Linked DNA regions of Homo sapiens: region 1 is linked to region 2. Evidence: promoter capture Hi-C in human tissues and cell types (Jung and others, 2019). All regions are on one chromosome and are shown on one strand. The core of a region is centred on a gene start or on the middle of the fragment in contact, and the rest is flanking DNA. Distances in the headings are between cores, read along the strand shown. Region 1 has its middle 10 kb from the start of PDGFC. Region 2 holds the start of GLRB (glycine receptor beta).

The links. Contacts are between HindIII fragments. The study calls those that stand out against the background at their distance.
Region 1: a fragment that was not itself captured here is called in contact with the fragment with the promoter of GLRB in region 2 in 2 of the 25 tissues and cell types used here (hippocampus and mesenchymal stem cells).

The regions. Positions count from the first base shown.
Region 1 is chr4:156,978,358-156,985,340 of GRCh38, reverse strand. No RefSeq gene overlaps it. Among named protein-coding and RNA genes, the nearest start is that of PDGFC, 10 kb to the right of the region's middle. The HindIII fragment of the contact is 5,507 bases long and covers 1-5,388 here.
Region 2 is chr4:157,071,097-157,077,570 of GRCh38, reverse strand. It overlaps GLRB (glycine receptor beta), which reads right to left and starts at 1,421. Exons shown (of 10, transcript NM_000824.5): 1 at 1,274-1,421. RefSeq lists a silencer at 4,020-4,314. The HindIII fragment of the contact is 3,601 bases long and covers 1-2,313 here.

The sequences.
Region 1 (6,983 bases), core at 1,386-3,885, 93 kb after region 2:
GAAACTCTTTCTCCAAGCAACAACAACAAAAAATTTTTTTAAATCTCATTGAATTATACATATATATATATATATATTTTTTTTTTTTTTTTTTTTTTTTTTTTGAGACAGAGTTTCACTCTTGTTGTCCAGGCTGGAGTGTAATGGCATGATCTCGGCTCACTGCAAACTCCGCCTCCTGGGTTCAGGCGATTCTCCTTCCTCAGCCTTGCGAGTAGCTGGGATTACAGGCCTACACCACCACACCCGGCTAATTTTTGTATTTTTAGTAGAGATGAGGTTTCACCATGTTGGTCAGACTGGTCTCGAACTCCTGACCTCAGGTGATCCACCAGCTTTGGCCTCCCAAACTGCTGGGATTACAGGCGTGAGCCACCGTGCCCAGCCAAGGGTTTTTTTTTTTTAATGTGTTGTTTTTTGTTTTTTTGTTTTGTTTTGTTTGTTGAGATGGAGTCTCGCTCTGTTGCCCAGGCTAGAGTGCAGTGGCGCGATCTCGGCTCACTGCAAGCTCCTCCTCCCGGGTTCAGCCATTCTCCTGCCTCAGCCTCCCGAGTAGCTGGGACTACAGGTGCCCGCCACCACGCCCGGATAATTTTTTTTTGTATTTTTAGTAGAGGCGGGGTTTCACCGTGTTAGCCAGGATGGTCTTGATCTCCTGACCTCGTGATCCACCCGCCTTGGCCTCCCAAAGTGCTAGGATTACAGGCGTGAGCCACCCCGCCCGGCCTTTTTTTAAATTATTTTTATAACATCTGCAAGTCACTCTTCATTCTCATTTCATTTTAGCTCCAATTATTACGTTACCACTAAAACATCTTTTGTCAAGGTCACCAATAACTTCTATGTTTCCAAATCTACTGTATAATTTTTCTATTTTCACTATTCTCTATTAGATACACTCCACATCTCTGGCTACTGAAAATGCACTTTTTTTTCTCACCTTTCACTGTCCTGTTTTTATTATTACAACACATTCCTGTATTCATTTTACCCCGTAGAGTTGGCTTTTCCTAGTCCCTTTTACTTAATCATTCTTCTTGACCCAAGGTCTGCATATTAGATATTCTCGAGGCTATTCCTGGGCCCTTTTCTTTTCTCCATCTACTCTATCACCATTGTCTCCCAGAACCTAACACAACGCCTGATATTCATAGTTGGTACTTGTTGAAGAAAAGGAGTAAATAAAATAGTAGAAATGCAAGCTCAGAATACATCAGTATCAATATGCTATTATGATTCATGATGTGAAAAGAAATATCCAAGAAGTTAATAATGACACTTTAATTCAAATAGATGCTACGAAGTAAAATTTTATCTGTCTCCTCATTCTAAAAATAATTTTGGTTAGTATACTCAAACCAAATATATCTCTTATTTATTCAAATTCCTGTCTATGATTCCTTTTATGTTACAGATTACAATACACATCAAATAAGTGGCAAAGTTAATGATATGAGACAGATGTGGCTATCTCCCAAGCCTACATACAAAATAATAATTTGAATATTTTTAGAGAAAAACAGAGGATGTGATTTACTATCCATAAAAACTCAGTTTATTTGTCTGTATTGTTGAAATTAGCTATGTTTTCTTTGAGAAGGAAAACAGAAAACATATGACTTCAAAAAATATTTTTAATATGATGTCTAATTCTCAACAATTCTAAAGAAGCTGGACAATAATATTTTAAGTTTATGCATACATGATGGTTGCACTTCTTTTAAAATATGCCTAATAGTCACCATAGTAACAGATGCAGAGTCTCCTCTATGTGCCTCCTGGTGTTATCAATGTGAATAACAGCACAGTGTTAGAAAGGCAAACAACAAATTCATAGCAGCACATCATGAGATCAGTTTTAATAACTGTAGTGTGTTTAATTTACATTTAAATCTAGAAACGATTAATATTTATTATTATTATCATATAATGATACAGAAAATATTTTCTTTTGTATCTAGAAAATATTAATATTAATGCAAATATAATTTGCATATGTATAGAAGAATAGACAGATCCATCAATCAATATCCTTTTACACTACTCTGTGGAGTTCAAACAATATAGTCTTGTTCCTGCAGGGCCACCAGCACAGGCCAAAACAGAAATTGGCCACTGACATAACTCATATTTTTATGAAAGGATAATGACTAAAGACAACATAAAAATCCTAAATTGTTAAACACTTAAAGAATAATTGGGATAACAGATTTTTCTTAAAAAGGGCATATTTTGACTAGAAAATCTATCCTTCTTCCTTGAGAGCTTCCTTCCATTCTTCTTTCTTAGATTCCACATTCTTTTCCCTGCTCCTATATAAGCTTTTGTTCATTTCCTTGTTTTAAATAATTTTTAATATTTTTAGAGTTATCTATACTCTTCGTCTGGCCAGAAATGTCTTCAAGGCCCAAGTAATATTGCCTTTAGCAATTATCTTTCTGCAAAAAAAAATGAGAGAATATTTTGGTAGAAAACAAATAATTACAAATTGAATTAGAAGATGTTGGAAATGGAAGGCATCTTGAAATCAACCAGGGTGAATTACATGTTTGCAGTGATAGAAACCAAGGACCAGAAAAGTTGTTGTTCTTGTTGTTGTTCTTCTTTGTCTTCTTCTTCTTTTTGTTAAAGTCACATATCTAATTGGGATAGAACTCAGAATTTCTGCTTGTGAGTACTCTCCAGGGTACCGTGGTGTCCATTGTTTTGAACCAACAATTGATATGTTTTGAAACGTTTTTTGAACTTTCAAAATTAAATTACTAATGAAAACTCACTCTCACTTAAAAAATATGTGCTAGCTTTTCCCTATGAAGCTTTTTGCCTGATCATTTCATGAGGGACATTTAAATGGAGTAGTGGTAAAAACTCCATACCATGTCAGCTGCAAATGTGTCATTTCTGCATATAAAATGTATCAGATGAAACTTGCTAAGGGATAAGAAAAATATCATCATAACCAGTATTTTATATCATGCTTAATAGAATAAATATTTATGAGCTTGAAAAGTCATTAAGTAGTTATATTTTATCTGAGCTCATTAATGTAGTTTTTACTACTCTGCAATGAATTTATTTATTCAGTATAATAAAATATCAATATATCAAAATAATAAATCATTGCCAGATAGGGGAAAAAAGTGGCATGTTTGGTTCATCCCATAGCAGTTTTTCTATTTTTTTGACATTAACTCAGATCTGAAGTCTAATATCATAGTAAAAGTAATTTCTAAAAGCACATGAAATGTAAAATAAATTGTCATTTAACTAATTTACTTTAGGTATGAATAGTCATAAAACCGCAACACTTCATATCCCATGTGAGCTTCGTGGCTCTTAAAATTTCTTCTGTCCAGGCAGCCATAGGCATCAATTATTTAGAGACCACATTCACACACAAATATACATTTTAAACTGTAACATGAAAACTTCAAAACTAATAAAAAAGAATTATATCTGAGGTCATATTTTCAAAACATGAAGAAGATACTTTCATAGAAGTTATTTTCCAAAATGATGACATCTTGGATATGACAGATTGGTTACTAAATAGACAGAGACTTGTGAACCATCTGCTATGTAAGATTTCTCTATCAAAAAGAATTAACTCTATTTAAACCAGTCAGACAATATGAGCATGGGCTGTTTGCCAGTCCTGAGAAATAATCTTGTAATATTGGAAAGAATGTTAACACAGTATTTATGAAAAGACAAACACAGCATTGCTTCCATTTTGGAAAGTACCTACTGGATCCTCTTTCCAATTCACCGAAAAAATGGAGTTACATGCATAATTTTCACTTATGTGTGAGCTTAGAGGTTCAGTACAGCTTGACTGCTGTTTTCCATAATTTAGAGCTTCCTTTTACAAGATCCCCAACTTTGACTGACAGCCAAGCAAGAAAATGAACTCCACATGGCTCCAGTCACCCTAATTATGTCAGATGTTGCTGCTCTTCCTTCTATTTTTCTTCCATGAAGATTTAGCGTGGGTATATCTGCATTTTGGTGACTTCATATTTTTGTTAATTTCACTCAAAAAATAATTAAAATGCATGTTAAACGTGGAGCACCACATATACAATGTCCAACACTGGAGTGAGGAGGAGGAGGAGGAGAGATGGTTGGCAGATTAAAACAAAAAGAGGAAAGGAAAATTTCTGCTGTCAAAGATTTTGTAATCAATTGCAGGGAGGTATATCAGCAAAGCTATAAAATATAACGATAATATTGGGCAGTGAGGTTGAGGATTGGCATACAAAATTTTTAGAAGGTTAAGAGAGACTCATCCTGGTATTGTGATGGCAAAAAATAGGATGGACTATAGAAAAAGGCTTCTTTATTTAGTAAAAATAATTATTTAGTATTATATTGATTTTAAGATACCATTGCTTATAAAATTCCCCATTTAATTAAAATAGCCTTTTGGGAAGAAAAAAAAATAGTTGTTAAGTTTCTTCTTACATTGAATGTAAGCTATCTGAATTTCAGAAATGTTAAAACAGAAAAAAGTTTATCTCCTAATTAAAAAGAATACAATTACACAATCCATTACATGTTCTGCATGTTTAAAACACACAGGTCATTGTGTCAAAGGCTTCACATACTTTGTCTCATTTAATTCTTATTATATCTGAAGTAGATTCTGTTATTATCAGTTTGTAGTGATGGTGGGTCTCATGCTGGGGAATATGATTGCTGGTATTTGTTTCCTCAGTTTAGGTAAGGGGCTAAGATGTTAGCTTCTATGTTTGACTCCAGTGCTTGGATCTTGGCTGGGAGTCTACACTGCCTCCAAATACTAGTTGAACACCCTCTGTTACATGAGGCAGAGTGATGTAATGGTCAAGTGCATGAACTATACAAGCTAAAAACCCAGCTCTGCCACTTATCACTTGTGTGGTTGTAAATGAAATGCTTAGCCCTCAGTAGCTCACTTTCCTCCGCTATAAAACTATTATGATTTTATAATATCTATTTCATATGTTTGTTGTGAGAATAAAGCAGTGAATATACATGAAGTCCTTAGGACAGTACCTGGCACATGGGGAGACTTAGCAATTATTATTTGATAAGTGCAATATGTTAAGTGCTGGGAAAAAAGAAGATGAATAAAAAGCAAAATAGGGTCAGGTGCAGTGGATCACGCCTGTAATCCCAGCTCTTAGGGAGGCCAACGCAGGCAGATCACTTGAAGCCAGAAGTTTGAGACCAGCCTGTCCAACGTGGTCAAACCTCACCTCTACTAAAAATACAAAAGCTAGCCGGGTGTGGTGGCACAGGCCTGTAATCCCAGTTACTCCAGTGGCTGAGACATGAGAAACACTTGAACCCAGAGGCGGAGGTTGCAGTCAGCAAGGCCAGATCATACCACTGCACTCCAGCTTAGGCATCAGAGTGAGACTCTAAAAAAAAAAAAAAAATCAAAATAGAATAGACTTATATAATATATTGGGTTATGCATCATTGTGGAAGGAGCATAAGAAAAGATGCAAAAACTAAGTAGGAACATGTAAGTTGCCGTATGTCAGGAAACTACAAGACACTCAGAGAGTGTGAGATTTGGGCACTTAAGGAAGAGCAGATCATTGCTAGGAGTATAGATTTTATTCTGCAGGCAAAGGAAGACTGAAAACTTTGGAGTAGGGCATCCTGATCAGGTTTTTGTTTTAACTAGATCAAGCTGATAATCTGATGACAGTTTGGAGAAGCATAAAAGTAGCCTAGGTAGAAAGCAGTTGGGAGGCCTTTGTGCAAGGAATAGATAGATCATGGGAGAAGATAGGGTGTATACTTAACATGGGAAAAAGCAAATGCAGATTGATGGGATGTGCAAAAATAAGCGGGAGAAATGGTGAGGGCAACAATAATGCATTTTTACTTCCACTGTAACTTCTTGGGCTCAACAGGTTGCTTTAATGTTTCTGACAAATAGCTATTTTGATAAAGTTCAAGATACTCTCAAGGTTAGTAGTAACAGAACTGCCTCCCCCTTACAATCTCACCTTCACCAAGAAAATAGCCAGTCATCGCACTAACTTTGATTTTTCCTGTTATTGTCCTTCAGAAACGTATTTGAATACACCTTTTGTGTTTCCTTCATCATAAGTTGTCAGAACCAGCAACACTTTAATGGTGATTTTACGGCAAGGTTTTACTGCTAACAAAGGGCACCATATAATCATTTTTCCTTCACAAGGTTTCAGAAGATTAATTTTTCATTTCTAGACCCACTAAAGAGAGTATTCAATCGAGATACAGTATTGCGACGTTTTCATTGACCGAATGCCTGTTTCCTGTATGCTTGAGGCATCCTTCTTTGGATATCAGACAAAATCACTATGATTTATTTTTTGTGATTGGCCATAGAATTTTAAGTTACATATTTATGACTGGAATTGTGTGTAGTCATAAAATAAACACCAAATGCTTAATATAAATGTATACTTAATAAGTTTGAAATGTGTTTTTTAAGACACGGTATATTTATCACTTGCTAGATGACATGAGGCAATGCAAACATGATACTTTAAAGTGCCAGTTCTAAAACCAGTTATCTGAACTCTAAGTCAGGCTTCTATACTTATGAACTGTGTGACCTTGGGTAAGCCCAAAAACCTCTCTGTGGCTCAGTTTTTCATGTTAAAAATGGGAAATTCTATTAATATCTACTCAGAGTTTTTGTAGTTAATTTATCAATTGTTTAATATGCAGTACAGGATTCCCTTTCTAGAGTAGTTCATTGTGAACATTTCAGTAAAAGGAGTTAAAAATGTGATGGATCTATAAGATATTAAATGAAAGTAGGCAGGCTACTGTATTCCCAGACCAGGCAATAGTTAATTTGTATACCAGACTAAATAGATTCTGAAAAATGAGAAATTTCTTCCCGTTAGCAAGTTAGGCATGCTGGATGTGGGTGTATACAGTGATAATAATCTTCTGATGGAAATCCAGATAGACAGAAAGAAAGAATATTACGA
Region 2 (6,474 bases), core at 172-2,671:
TTTAAATTTTTATATTGTTTGAAGTTCTTATGTATATTTTTTCAAAAATAATGTATTTTAAAGAAAAAGAAATTCTAAGTATTAAAAAAGACAGATAAAAGAAAAAGTTAATATCAAAGAGTTCCACATTCAAAATTCATTGCTTTTTTTATTTAAACACATTACATTGGCAAGCTACCTTTTTGCCCCAAAAAGGTGCCTCTTAAGTTAGCTTTAAAGCTTTCTTACTTATTTGCTACTAACATTTGTCATCAAAAAGATTACTTCAGAAATTCTACAACAAGAAATAAAACAAGTGTTGTTACATTTTTTTCAAATTATCGTCCTAGCCATATTTTAATAACATTTTCATGCTCAAATCAGAACCATATTCTTGCCAGAGATTCTGATAAATAAAAAATAATTAAGCCTCTACCTACACTAGAGAAGTTCAAACTCTTCTGCAACCTTCATTTCCAAACCATAAATTGTTTCTCTTTCATTGTTTTCCGCAGAGTAAAAGACCTGTCATATTCTTCAACGCTAACTTAATTCCCATCTCACCCTCAGAAATTTGCTTCTCCTTATGTCATGTTTTTCATCTTCCCCCCCCCCCCCCAGGATTCTTCCCCCCATATTTATCTTTTACACACACTCCAGGCAAGCCAGAGGGGCTTCTCCCTGGGTACTTTAAATTGAAGACAACAGAGGGGGCTCATCAGACCAACAGCAACAACACAAGGTTCTCCTCTGGCAACTTCACAACATTGGACGCTCCCTTCCCCCATCCGACAGCGGCACCTGCTTCCAGACACCTTGCCCACAGCAGCAGGTACTTCTCCCACTTTCACATCCTTGCCCCCGCAAAAAGGAGGGCCGAGCCCCCCTAACGCTTCGAAAAACAGAGAAATTCACCACTCTGCTCTGTCCTCACCCCCAATCTTTCAAGGGGGACAGCTGCATTGACTGGAGGATCCTCATAAACAAAACAACGCAAGGAGCCCTCCTGGCCAACCTTGCGTTTCCTAATTACCCCGGCCCTCTGCATCTCTCCACCCGGAGCGTCTCCGCGGGCGCCACCGCAGCGGGGACCCGGCTGCCGCTGCCAGGCGCCCCGCGCCCCTCTCCCGCGCAGGGCAGCGCGCGTCCTCCCGGGCACGCCGCAGTGCTCCTCGCGCTCCGCCGCCCCGGGCTTGACCCGCTGTTTCCGCAAAGGCGTCTATTCCCGTCCTCAGACCACCGTCGCCGCCCCAACCCGCGTCCCCTCCTCCTAAGTGGAGCTCCTGGCACTTACCCGGAGGCGCCCCTGCCCACAATCGCCGGGCGAGATCGTGGAGGCTCCGGGCCCAGGTGGCAGTGGCTGCTAAGGGTGCAGCGGGCGCCGAGCGGGGGCAGCTGCGTCCCAGCCGCCCGCGCCACCGCCGAGCTCGGCTGACGCGCCTGCTCGGGCCGCGGAGCCTGCGCCGTGGCGCGCCGCGGTCGGGGCCGCAGCGGGGACAGCGCGGGCCGCGGGGGAACCTGGCGACCGCGGGCGGGGGAGGGAAGAGGTGTCCCGACAGAGCAACGTCACGGCATCGTCCCCTTCAGGCATTGGAGGGGTTACCGAGCAGAAATGTGTACCCCCCTCACTCCTTAGGGGACTAAAGGAGTTGGGGACGAAGGGCGGGAATGATAGTGTCGGTACAAAAAGAAAAAACCTTTCAAGGAGCTGGGATTGCTTGGGGTCAGCTTTTGACCACTAGCAACAAACAACAGAGCAACAAATGACCTTCTTGGGTCAAAGCGAACAAAACACATTTTCTGTCATTTCACCATTTGCCTGGAACCCAGACATCCAGCTTAATCTCCGGGTCTTCCAATTTCTAAAAGCCTGAACTTTCTGAGCAAGCTTAAATTGGTCAAAATTACTGACAATATAGTCATACAGGTAATACTATGTTTAACATCTGTTACATAATTAACATGTGTACAGAACTTGACAGTTGCAAAACACCTTTCACTCGCCTTATCTCATGTGGCCCTCACCACATTCCTGGGCAAGTTTTGTCATCCCCTTCTGTAGATGAAGAATCTGAAACTCAGTTATATTAAGAGATTTACTTAGAGTTACAGATCTTGAAAGAAATTTACCAGAGATTCAAAATTAGTGATTTTTGCATATCTGAACCAGACAGGGTCTCTGCCTTATAAGAGCAAAATACTGTTGTCCTCATCCTTGTGAAGAAGTAGCCCTTACTTGGATATGCAGCCCTTAGATAACAGATAAGGCTATCCTATTACCTCTTGAATGTATGCCTGATTGATTTTTTTTAATTGTTATTTTTTAAGCAACAGGAGCTCACTTTGTTGCCCAGGCTGGAGTGCAGAGGCACAGTCATCGCTCACCGCAGTCTTGAACTTCTGGGCAATCAAGAGATCCTCTTGTCTCGGTCTCCCTAGTAGAGTAGCTGGAACAACAGACAGGCCATTGCGCTCCACTAATTATTATTATTATTTTTTAAGAGACAGCATCTCTGGCTTTGTTGTCCAGGATGGTCTCCAACTCTGGCCTGAAGCCATCCGCCTGCCTTAGCCTCCCAAGCTGGGGGGCTTACAGGCTTGAGCCACCCCACCCCACTGCACCAGGTCCTGATGGATTTTTTTTATTAAAAAAGCATTGTCTCAAGTGAGCATCACTTAGCATTGTATTGTGGACCCACAGATGTATCCACTAATAAATTTTTCCACCCGCAGCATATGGAGGGAAGGAATATTTCCTGCATATAACCGTGTTCCATAAGCTTCATGAGATATTCTGCTGCCTAAGAGTAGTGATCATTAATAAGTGATCATTACCTTATTTACATTACAAAATGATCATTATTCAAAGAGCTGTACTGTTTGAAGACCCCCCCGCCAAAGTGGATCAGGATATAACTTTGGATTTTAATGCTTTATTAGAGAGAACTATATTGATAATATACGTTTCATAAGATATAACTTTTGGTGAATAGGTCATATGAAGAATGATAAAGGAATTAGTTTTCATGCAGCCAGGGGAGTTTAGAAGTTGGCGAAAACCTTACACTTAGTTTTCAATTAATCAAGAAATTATTAAGAGTTTAGAATAATAGGAATTCCGATTCCTGTAATAAAATGAACATCTTTTATTTACAAACTCTAATGTCCACATTTGGAAGAACTATGCTGAAAATACCTACAACAGACTTGCTCACCTTCCCTAGTATTGTTTCTGTGCCATCCATGGATGTTATATTGGAGAATTAGGTTATTCAGAAGAAAAGCAAGTCCAGCAGGTTGGATGGGTTTGTAGGGTTTTGGCCCAAAGGTTAAGAAATATAGTTGATGCCCTAAAAGCACTTCTTCTAGCCTGTAAAATGGTCAAGTTCAGAATTCTGAAAATTTTTTTCTATGAAAGTGATCTGCTTACCTATATTTCTATAACTTTTATATCATAGTGTGAAAAGGGATGCTTCTAAATAATGTCATGAAATAACCTATTTTCCCCAATTCTGTCAAGTGTTGATCTACTTTTCTCTATTTATTTCTATCAATATTCACTCCTTTAGTAATTTCATCTGGTCACAAGGTTTTAAACACCATGTTGATAGCTCCCATATGTACTTCTCCTGACTAGACATCTCTCCAGAACTCCAGACTCATCTATCTAACTGCCTTTTCAACATTTCAACTTGCGTATTTAATAAACATGTCAAACTCAGTGTGTCCCAAACTGAGCTATGGTTCTCCCTAAAATCTGCCCCACATTCAGCCTTCTCCTTCTCAGTTCACGGCAACCTCATCCTTAGGGTTGGTCAGGCTAAAAATCATGAAGTTGTTCTTGATTCCGCTCTTTTTCTCACACCTCACAACCAAATCTCTGAGGAAATCCTGTTTACTCTCAAATGACAACAGGAATTCAGCTACTTCTTATGATTTTTACTGCAGCCAACCTAGACTCAGTGACTTTCATCTCTACGTTAGATTACTATAATAGCACTTTAGCTACTCACCCTGCCTCTATCATTGTCCTCTCCTACCCTTGAGTAATCTCAAAACAGTAGCCAGAGTGATCCCTTTAAAACATGTCATAGGTCATATTGTGTCATTCCTCAACTCAACACCCAGCAGTTAGTCCCCATTTTATAAACCAGTGTTTACAATGGTCTACAAACCTTCAATTGTTATGCATCTCCTCCCCCTAACTCTGACTTCTTCTCTCCTAATGGCTCGCTCTCTTTCAGCCCTGCTGATCTTGCTGCTTCTCCAACATGCCAAAGCCAGGTATGGTCCCATCTTAGGTTATTGGCTCCTCTGTCTAAAATGCTTTCCCCCCAGACCACCACATGACTGACTCCCTCATATCTTCAACATCAACCCAGATGTCACCGTCTCACAGAGATTTATCCAATGTTATTTAAAAGTGCAAACCATCTCCCATCCAAAGATTTCCAATCCCCCTTTGCCTGCTTTTCTTTTTGTTTTCATAGTACTTATTACCTCCCAACTCATCATACAATATACTTACAGTTTGTGGCCTCTGTTTCCTTGCTAAAATGTAGGCTTCATGAAGGCAGAGATTTGTATCTATTTTTGTCCATTGATGTTGCCCACACACCTAGAATAGTGTTGAATGAATGTGTAAATCTTGGCCTCATTTATTAATTTCTTCAAATTTCATGTTTCTTTATTAGTAAAATGAAAATGACAATGCATAATTTGCAGGATTGTACCAAGAAATAAACAGGTTAATTGACGTTAAAAATCTGCTGCAGAGAAGAAAAGTCACAAAGAATTAACCTCCCCTATTTTTGCTTGTTTTTATTTGCTTAATGGAATGATAGAATTTTGTTGTGGCTGTTTTTTTTTTAATTATTTTTAATTTTTGTGGGTACATGCATTTTTTGCTTACTGGGACCCTGTTATCCATTTCTTTCTTGTACGTCTACACTGAGAACATTTTGTAGGCCTACATCTAAACACTAAAAACCTTCTAACCTTCTTTTCTTTCTTTTTTCTTTTTTTTTTTCTTTTTGAAACAGGGTCTGGCTCTGTCGCCCCGGTTGGAGTACAGTGGCATGATCTTGATTCACTGCAACCTCCTCCTCTCATGCTCAAGCAAACTTCCTACCTCAGACTCCTGGGTAGCTAAGGACTCTATTTTCTATGCATCCATCTTCACCTGGCCTATAATATATTTATTTTATTTGACTTGATAATAAAACCTAAATACAGCCCTAAATATCTTCTGTTATACTAAGAAATCAAACTTTGGATACAGAGAGAGTATTCTCACCAAATCATTTTTTGTGTGTGACATAAGTACTCATCACTGTTGCCATTGCCTAAATAGCCTTACAACATGGTTTAAAGATATAAATTATTTTTTTCTGTATTCTCTCTACATGAGTCATACTTCCTCTTTAATGACAGCCTGCACTGTAATAGTCATTCATGAAATTTTTCATCAAACTTTCAGTCCATTTACCACTATAATGATCAGATATTTTCAATAAAAGTATGTCCAGCTGTTTTAGATATGGTTCTCCTCCAAATCATCATCTTTAAACATTTATCAAAATAGATAATGGGAGAATAAATATAAATAAAGAGAAAATTACAGCAGAAGATGATGAGAATAGTGGGACAGTAATTCAGCATCTTGCAAACACTGTTCATAAAACTTGAAAGACAGTAAAACTTACATTAGGAAATGTTGATTTGTAGCCAGTCTTATTAGAATAATAAAAACATTATTTGATATTTGATAAAATCACTTCCATATGTTTTCTTCAAATAGCACATTATCCTTAAAATGTTCTGCAATCTCTTATTTTTAAACTAACTTTTAAACAATAATAGCCATCTTTCATTGATTACCTATTAATTGCAAAAAAATTTTCTACATTATGGTTTTAAAACTTCAAAATTTACTTGCAAGTTATTTTCATATCCATATTTTTGATGAGAAACCAGAGGAGAGGCTCAGAAAGGGAATTTAACTTATCCGGAATATTAGACTTGGAAGAGGAAGAGATAGGATTATTTCATCTTTCATGTCCTTTACAACATTAAGACTGACTCCAATTGCACATAGGCAAGTGAAAGAAGCTTAGTTTTTAGTCGTAGATGTCTTTGTACAGAATACTGAATGCAAATTAAAAAATTGAAATCAAAGGGGTTGTTCTTACCTCCAATTCCAGATTGGCCTTAAAGATGAACTAATATGTGAGTCATTTTTTACTTAATATTTTGGCCTTAAAGATGAACTAATATGTGAGTCATTTTTTACTTAATATTTTTTCTGTTCATCATATTAATAATAGCAAAAATAGTAATGACCATCGTCATTGATTGACAGCAAAGTACTTTGAATTTATTATCTCCTCAATACCTTTATGAGGTTAATACTTTTCTTGTTGCAATTTACAGATAAAGATCCCCAGGCATCATATAATTTTTCCGAAGTCAGTTTACTAGTAAGTGATTGAGAGA